2 separate regions of the Homo sapiens genome follow, and region 2 is linked to region 1. The links are contacts of gene promoters, found by promoter capture Hi-C in blood cells and fetal thymus (Javierre and others, 2016). All regions are on one chromosome and are shown on one strand. Each heading gives the region's core, a stretch centred on a gene start or on the middle of the fragment in contact. The rest is flanking DNA. Distances are from core to core; before and after follow the strand shown.

Region 1 (4,128 bases), core at 436-2,935:
TCCACCTCTTACAAATAGGACTGTTTGTCTGCTCCTCCTGGGTCAAAGTAACTTCGGGTTCAGGTCCTGGATCCAGCAAAGGGTTTGCTTAACATTGCAAGAAAGATGTTGCCTCATGGTCAAAAGTCAGGCGTAGGATGAGACAGGCAGACACGCACACATTCACACCCACGTTTTGCAAAGATGGACTGACCCTGTCAGAGGATGTGTGGGTGAAGGTGCACAGTGAGGATAGAGACATATGGGAGTCCAGTAGACATCAATCAAACTGGACTCAGTTTGCACACACCTGGAGCTCAAGAGTCTCCAGGGGGAAAACAGAGACACAAAGTCAGACAGAGAGAGAGCCAGAGAAATTTCCTGCACCGTGAAGATAGTCAGAGGCAGGGAAGAAACTCCTTAGCACTAGTTAGAGTGATCAGAAACCAAGAGGACCTGATCGCTGTACCTGCCAGGTCTCAGTTTCTGTCTCCTTCCAACTGACCACCTCTTCCTCTGAGACTCACCAGTTCTGCATCTCTTGCTCCTCCTTCTGTTTCTCCGACCACTTCCACCTGTGGCTGTCACAGAAGGGCGGATGAAGGAGGGGACACTGGAGATAGACTCAGCATCTGCAGGCTTCCAAAGAGAGGGGCTAGGAGATCCACCAACACACCAGCACAAATACACCAGCACACACAGATACACACAATTGGTTCATGTATTGCTAGGTTACAGTTTGCTATGCTACAAAGGCAGTAGGCCAAATTTGATTGAATTGAATAATTCCTTATTTTCATCAGCTTCTCCTTTTTTTTTTTTTTTTTTTTTTTTTGAGATGGAGTATTGCTGTGTCACCCAGGCTGGAGTGCAGTGGTGTAATCTTGGCTCACTGCAGCCTCCACCTCCCAGGTTCAAGTGATTCTCTTGCCTCAGCCTCCCGAGTAGCTGGGATTAAAAGTACCCACCATCACGCCCGGTTAATTTTTGTGTTTTTAGTACAGATGGGGTTTTGCCATGTGGGCCAGGATGGTCTCGAACTCTTGACCTCAATTGATCTGCCCCCCTCAGCTTCCCAACGTGCTGGGATTACAGGTGTGAGCCACCGCACCCAGCCAGCCTCTCAGTTTTGAACATGCACTACCACCACCTCCACAACACACAAATGTAAATGCACTTTCGTATATAAAACTGTATAAATACAAGGAAGCTCATACACATGCAAGGATACACACATAAGCACCCCCAGATTCAACCACAGAAATATACGCCAGTACATTTGCATAAATTCAAACACCCCTTTACATGTAAAAATCATATAAGCACATACAGGGATGCAAGCAGGCATGGACAAATGCATGCAAGCACAGACAAACAGACAAAGCTAAGTAAAAAAGTGCAAGCTCACCTATGCTTACAAAAATAGACATACATATACCCACAAACCCACACACCCACACATTCACTTGCTCACCTGGACTTTGATATCTCTACCACTGTATCCCTGCCAATATCTACAGAGTGGGTAAAGGGATAGGCATCAGGTCACTGGGTTGCCCAAGCAGGAAGTCTGGGTTCCCTAACAACTTTTTCTAAGCTAATGCTCCTGGATGATGATGAAAAAGGAGGTGGGGAATGGATGAAATTTTATAACAGGGTGCAGAGGCAGGGTCAGGATAAAAGGCCCAGTTGGAGGCTGCAGCAGGGTGCAGGGCAGTCAGACCAGGACCATGGAACTCAGCGTCCTCCTCTTCCTTGCACTCCTCACAGGACTCTTGCTACTCCTGGTTCAGCGCCACCCTAACACCCATGACCGCCTCCCACCAGGGCCCCGCCCTCTGCCCCTTTTGGGAAACCTTCTGCAGATGGATAGAAGAGGCCTACTCAAATCCTTTCTGAGGGTAAGACACAGACGAATGGGGTCTGAGGGTGAGCTGCTTCTTGCCTTGGTACTTGGGGAAGCTTCACCAAACAGAATGAGGCAGACTTCCAGAGTCAGGGGTGGCACGGGCATGGTTGGTGAGTACGGAGCATGGTGAAGCATGATGGGTGGTATTATTAGGAGAAAAGCATCAAATTAAATTTAGCAGAGTTTATTTGAGCAAAGAAGTGACTCATGAGTTGGACAGCTCCCTAAACCAGGAAAGACACCACACGGCAGTATGGTCAAGTGGTATTTACAGGCAGAAAAAGGAGGTGACATACAGAAACAGCCTGATTGGCCACAGATCACAGCTTGCCTTACTTGGTCACAATCTGAGCAGTTTGCAGCCTGTGTGGACTGAAAGCCCAGCTGCTCTGATTAGCCAACACTTGGCTACTTGTCACAAGAATATATTCATTTGGGCCAGGTGCAGTGGCTCATGCCTGTAATCCCAGTGCTTTTGGAGGCCGAGGTGGTGGATCACCTGAGGTCAGGAGTTCGAGACCAGCCTGGCCAACATGGTGAAACCTTGTCTCTACTAAAAATACAAATATTAGCTGGGCATAGTGATGCGTGCCTGTAATCTCAGCTACCCAGGAGGCTGAGGAAGGAGAATCACTTGAATCCAGGAGGCAGAGGTTGCAGTGAGCCAAAATCTTACCACTGCACTCCATCCTGGGTGACAGAGTGAGACTCCTTCTCAAAAAAAAAAAAAAAAAAAAGAATATACTCCCAAGTTAGGTTGCAGTTCACTCTACAGAGAGAGCTTTAGGTCAAATTTAATTTAATTAAACAATTCTCCCCTTTTGGTCAGCCTCAAAATTTTGAGATTGACCAAAACCTTGGGCATCAACATTACTTCTGTCACCATCATAATGGACTTGTCTGCTCTCAGTATGGAATTCACAATGGACAATGTCAACGTAGTTGAGTGATTCTTTACCTTTTCTTCATGTTTTTGTTGTTCCCACTGTAATGAGCCCACTGGATGTACAAAGAATGGCTGCATATGAGCATTTAAGACTCTTTTTTTTTCTGAGACAGGGCCTCACTCTGTCAGCCAGGCTGAAGTGCTGTGGCATGATCACGTCTCACTGCAGCCTTGACCTCCCAAGGCTCAAGTGATCCTCCTGCCTCAGCCCCCCAAGTAGCTGGAACTACAGGTGCATGCCACCACGCCCAGCTAATTTTTGTATTTTTTGTAGAGACAGGGTTTTGCCATGTTGCCCAGACTGGTCTTAAACTCCTGGGCTCAAGCAATCCACCTGCCTCGGCCTCCCAAAGTGCTAGGATTACATGTGTGAGCCACCGCACCCGGCCAAGACTCTTGAGAAAATACAACACATCAGGGAGACTGTTATGATGGCTCTCAGGAGGGTAATACGAAGAAAATGAAGTCACTGGGCCTGTAATAAACTTTGAGGAATGTGGACTTGGGGGTATAGATAAGGTCCACTGTCCACAGAGAGAAGAAAGGCTGTTAATAGTCTCTTTTAACTTGAGTGTGTCCATGAACCAAACTGATCAAAATCGAATAATTCGAAGTTCAGACAATAAAGATAGTTCAATAGTATTAGAGTCCAATTGGTCATAGATTTTGTTCAGGGCATGATGGTAATTAAGGACCAGAGCTTGCTATAAAATAACTTGATTTATAGAGACATTCATTTGTAGTTGGCCTGGTAACATATAGTATCCTGGAGACCCACTAGAAGAAACATTAAGAGTAGAAAAGTTTGGGATAGCCAGGCTTGCTGTGTTAGTCCATTCTCACACTGTTATAAAGACATACCTGAGACTGGGTAATTTATAAACAAAAGGGATGTAACTGACTCACAGTTCCACATGGCTGGGGAGGCCCCAGGAAAATACAATTCATGGCAAAAGGTGAATGAGAAGCAGGAAACTTACAATCATGATGGAAGGTGAAGGAGAAGCAAGTACCTTCTTCACAAGGTGGCAGGAAAAAGAGAGAGAGCCAAGGGGGAAGAGCCTCTTATAAAACCATCAGATCTTGTGAGAACTCACTCACTATCACAAGAACAGCATGGGGGAAACCGCCCCCAGGATCCAGTTACCTCCTACTAGGTCCTTCCCTCCACACCTGGGGATTACAATTCAAGATGAGATTTGGGTGAGGACACAGAGCCAAACCATATCACTTACCATCACCATTCAGGATGCTTGCAAACCAACTGCTAGCTGCACCTGTAAACACATATCTG
Region 2 (4,128 bases), core at 1,379-3,878, 120 kb after region 1:
TAACAACTGGTAGGGAATGAGTGGGTGGGTTCTGTCATCTACTGAGTAGAAACCAAGGACACTGCTAAACATCCTACCACACACAGGATGCAGCCCCCACCACCCATGAAGGCCCAAGACATCAACAGCAGTGAGTTGAGAAATTGCAATACATCCCTTCCTTGCCCCAAGTTCCCTCTGTAGCAGGAGAGCAAGTCAGAATAACAGAACTCAAAGCCTCTTAAAACCCCCCTTCTCGGCCACACATGGTGGCTCACGCCTGTAATCCCCAGAGGCCCAGGTGGGAGGATCGCTTGAGCCCAGGAGTTGGGGACCAGACTGGGTGACATAGCATGCTAGATCTCATCTCTACTAAAAATTTTAAAAATTAGCCAGGTGTGGTGATGCGTGCTTGTAGTCCCAGCTACTTGGGAAGCTGAGGCAGGAGAATCCCTTAAGCCCAGGAGATCGAGGCTGCAATGAGCTATGATCACACCACTAAACTCCAGTCTGGGTGACAGAGTGAGACCCTGTGTCAAAACAAACTAACTAACTGCCCTTCCCATAAATCCCAGTTTCCCCAATCAGGTGGTCCCATTAGGCCCATCTTTTTTTTCTTTTTTTTTCTTTTTTTTGAGTCAAAGTTTCACTCTTGTTGCCCAGGCTGGAGTGCAATGGTACAATCTCAGCTCACTGCAACCTCCACCTCCCGGGTTCAAGTGATTCTCCTGCCTCAGCCTCCTGAGTAGCTGGGATTATAGGCAAGCACCACCACGCCTGGCTAATTTTTTTTGTATTTTTAGTAGAGACAGGGTTTTGCCATGTTGGTCAGGCTGTCTCAAACTCCTGACCTCAGGTGATCCACCCACCTCGGCCTCCCAAAGTGCTGGGATTACAGGCATGAGCCACCACGCCCAGCCTCATTAGGCCCCTCTTAACCAAGTTCTAGGGTGAGGGATAAGTTGCTTACAGGGTTGGCGTGGATACAGCACTACACCCTCCCCTTAAAAGTAGGGAGTAGACGCCAAGGGAAACTAGAGCTATATAATCCCATCATCAAGCCTTCAGCCCTCTTCCAGGACCTGCCCCAACCGGCCTATCCAGGACTGAAACAACAGCATGGGCCCCACCTCCACCCCACCATATGCCTGGGACCTAGGGTGTCAAATTCCCCAGGACCTCCAAACACTTCCTCCTCTGCCCCTCTGAGAACAGCAATCCTGGTGCACACCCACGAACCTGTGGGGGTACCCACACCTCCACCTGGCCTCCCAGACCCTTGACCGCAGGGGCTCTCCACCCAGCCTAGCCCCTGGCACCAGAGCCCTGGCCCAGCTCCAGGTTTTGCATTCTGCCCTTGTGACCTGGCCAGGAGGTGGGTAACTAGGGCCAGTTTCTTCTTCTTTTTTTTTTTTTTTTTTTTTTGAGACCGAGTCTCACCCTGTTGCCCAGGCTGGAGTGCAGTGGCATGTTCTTAGCTCACTGCAACCTCCACCTCCCGGGTTCAAGCGATTCTCCTGCCCCAGCCTCCCAAGTAGCTCAGACTACAGGCGTGAGCCACCATGCCTGGCTAATTTTTGTATTATTAGTAGAGACAGGGTTTCACCATGTTGGCCAGGCTGGTCTTGAACTCCTGACCTCAGGTGATCCACCCACCTCGGCCTCCCAAAGTGCTGGGATTACAGGCGTGAGCCACTGCGCCTGGCCTACTAGGGTGAGTTTCTAAGGCAGGAGCTGAGAGTAGACATGGCTAGTAGGGTGCTCAGGAGGGCAGGAGGAGGGCTGTTTATGAGCCAGTGGTGGGAGAGAGTGTCATTCTAGTCTGAGAGGCTTTTTCCCTGTGGCTTCCAGCTCTGCCCTTTTCTTAAACACTCCTTCAGCCTCAGCTTGGCTTCAGTCCCACCAAGTGCAGTCTGACTCGTGGAGACATGAGAGATAGAGAGAGTGAGAGACCAGAGAGATCAGGAGACAGTGACTGAGAGGGACTTACAGGGAGATCAGGGAGAGAAGCAGAGAGAAGGAGAAAGCCCAGAGAGCATAAGAAATGAAGACCCAGAGACACCAAAGGAGGGAGAGACAGAGACACAGAGAGACAAAAAGATTCAGAGGCAGAGACTGTAGAGGCAGAAGCAAAGCAAGACACAGAGCATTTCAGAGACCCACGGCAAGAGACAGGGAACAGCATGGAGAACTATGAAAAAATAGGCTTCCAGAGAAAGAGAAAACTCCAGCTCTGGAGGGAAAGGGACTTAGCCAGGGCCACTCGGCCCATCAGTGGCAGAAATGGACTTGAACCCAGAGAAAAAGAAACAAGTGCCCCAAATACCAAAGGAACCCAGCCCCCATCCCTGGCCCATCATTTTGCGACAGCCCCATGACTACCCCAAAACCAGGCCCAGGCTCCAACTGGCAAAGCAAAAAAAAAAAACAAAGAAAGAAAGAAAGCTTTGCCCCATCCCAGGAGGGCCCCCAGGCGCAGCCCCCTCCCACGGCACCTTTCCAGCTGGCTGTGAGCCCTAGGGCCGCAGGAAAGGTATGGCAAGATGATGGGAGGGATTTAAAGTTCACAGCGAGAACAAGAAAAGTGGGGTTAAGGAGGAGGGTGTGGGCAGAAACAACTTAAGAACAACCTCTGCCCCACCACCCCCCAAGCACACCCAGAGCTGCAGGCTCTAGCGCATCCCAGCCAGTGTCTCCTGCAGCTCAGCAGGTAAAGGGCCCCGGTGAGGGAGGCAGAGAAGGAGGGGGTGTCTCCCAAGAGAGGGTGGGTCGCCAGCTCCAATCTCTGTCTCTGAGACTGGCTAGGAATCTTTTTTGCTGTTTCCTCTGAGAGCTCTCATGTCCCTGTTCTGAGCACTGGGATTTCTTTACTGGTGCTTCACCAAGTAGGTGGCTTCTCTCTCTGCAATGCAACCCCATGGTTGGCAACACTTGATTTTTTCCTGTCACTGTTTCTGCCTGTGCCCTTCCTCTCTGTCTCCGTCTCTTTCTCTCTCTCTCTCTCTCTTTTTTTTTTTTTTTTTTTTTTTGAGGCTGGAGTGCAGTGGTTCAATCTCAGCTCACTGCAACCTCCACCTCCTGGGTTCAAGCGATTCTCCTGCCTCAGCCTCCTGAGTAGCTGGGATTACAGGTGCCTAACACCACGCCTGACTAATTTTTGTGTTTTTAGTAGAGACAGGGTTTCACCATGTTGGCCAGGCTGGTCTCAAACTCCTGACCTCAAGTGATCCGCCTGCCTCGGCCTCCCAGAGTGCTGGGATTACAGGCGTGAGCCACCGTGCCCGGCCTCAGTCTCTCTTGGTCTGCCCTTTGCAGCCTACCCGTCTCTTTGTGTGGCTCTAATATTCCCTGCCTCTCTTATTCTCTCTCTCTCTCTCTCCATCTCTGTCTATGTGACTCTGTCTTTGTGTATCTGTTTCTGTCTGTCATTCTCGTCTCCCTCAGTCTCTGTGTCTAGCTCTGTCTCTCCCTCTCTCTGTCCCTCTTACCCTTTTTCTCTCCATCCTTCCATGTCCCTCTCTGTCTCTCAGTCAGTGTCCATCTCACTGTCTCTCCACTCAATCTCCCTTGTCTTTCTCTAGCTCTGTGTCTGTCTAGTTCTGTCTCTTTCTTTCTCTAGTCTATGTCAGCCTCTCTCTTTCTGTGATGTGCTCTCTGGCTCTCCCTATCTCTGTGTTTGTCTGTCTCTGTCCCTGTGTGTCTTGATCTCTCTTTATCACTGTCTCTGTATGACAGTCTCTTGACAGACAGGTGATGATAGATAGATAATAGACAGATGATACACAGATGATAGATTATGAAGATAGTAGATAGATGATAGATATAGATAGATAATAGATGATAGATAATAGACAGATCAATGATAGATGATAGAAGAATAGATAGATGATGGATAGACAGATGATAGATGATAGATAGATAGATAGATGATAGATAGATGTTGATAGATGTTAGATAATAGATGAGAAACAAAGAAAGAAAGAAAAAGAAAAAAGAAAGAAAGAAAAAGAAAGGAAGGAAGGAAGGAAAGAAAGAGTGATAGATGATAGATGGCTGATAGGTAGACAGACATCTGTAGATATGTAGATCGCTCACTGTTTTTCTGTCTCTCTCATTATCTTTATGCATATCTCTTGGCCTCTCTTAGTC

The links. Contacts are between HindIII fragments. The CHiCAGO score rates a contact against its expected background, and 5 or more counts as called.
Region 2: a contact is called between the fragment with the promoter of CYP2F1 here and the fragment with the promoter of CYP2B6 in region 1, in 17 of 17 cell types (naive CD8 T cells, total CD4 T cells, naive CD4 T cells and 14 more). The highest score is 32.0, in naive CD8 T cells.

The regions. Positions count from the first base shown.
Region 1 is chr19:40,989,597-40,993,724 of GRCh38, forward strand. CYP2B6 (cytochrome P450 family 2 subfamily B member 6) reads left to right here and starts at 1,686. Exons shown (of 9, transcript NM_000767.5): 1 at 1,686-1,880. The coding sequence starts at 1,710. RefSeq lists promoters at 1-1,725, 26-1,691 and cis regulatory regions at 41-53, 1,428-1,451. The HindIII fragment of the contact is 6,148 bases long and covers 1-1,939 here.
Region 2 is chr19:41,111,804-41,115,931 of GRCh38, forward strand. It overlaps CYP2F1 (cytochrome P450 family 2 subfamily F member 1), which reads left to right and starts at 2,629. Exons shown (of 10, transcript NM_000774.5): 1 at 2,629-2,689. The HindIII fragment of the contact is 5,953 bases long and covers 2,423-4,128 here.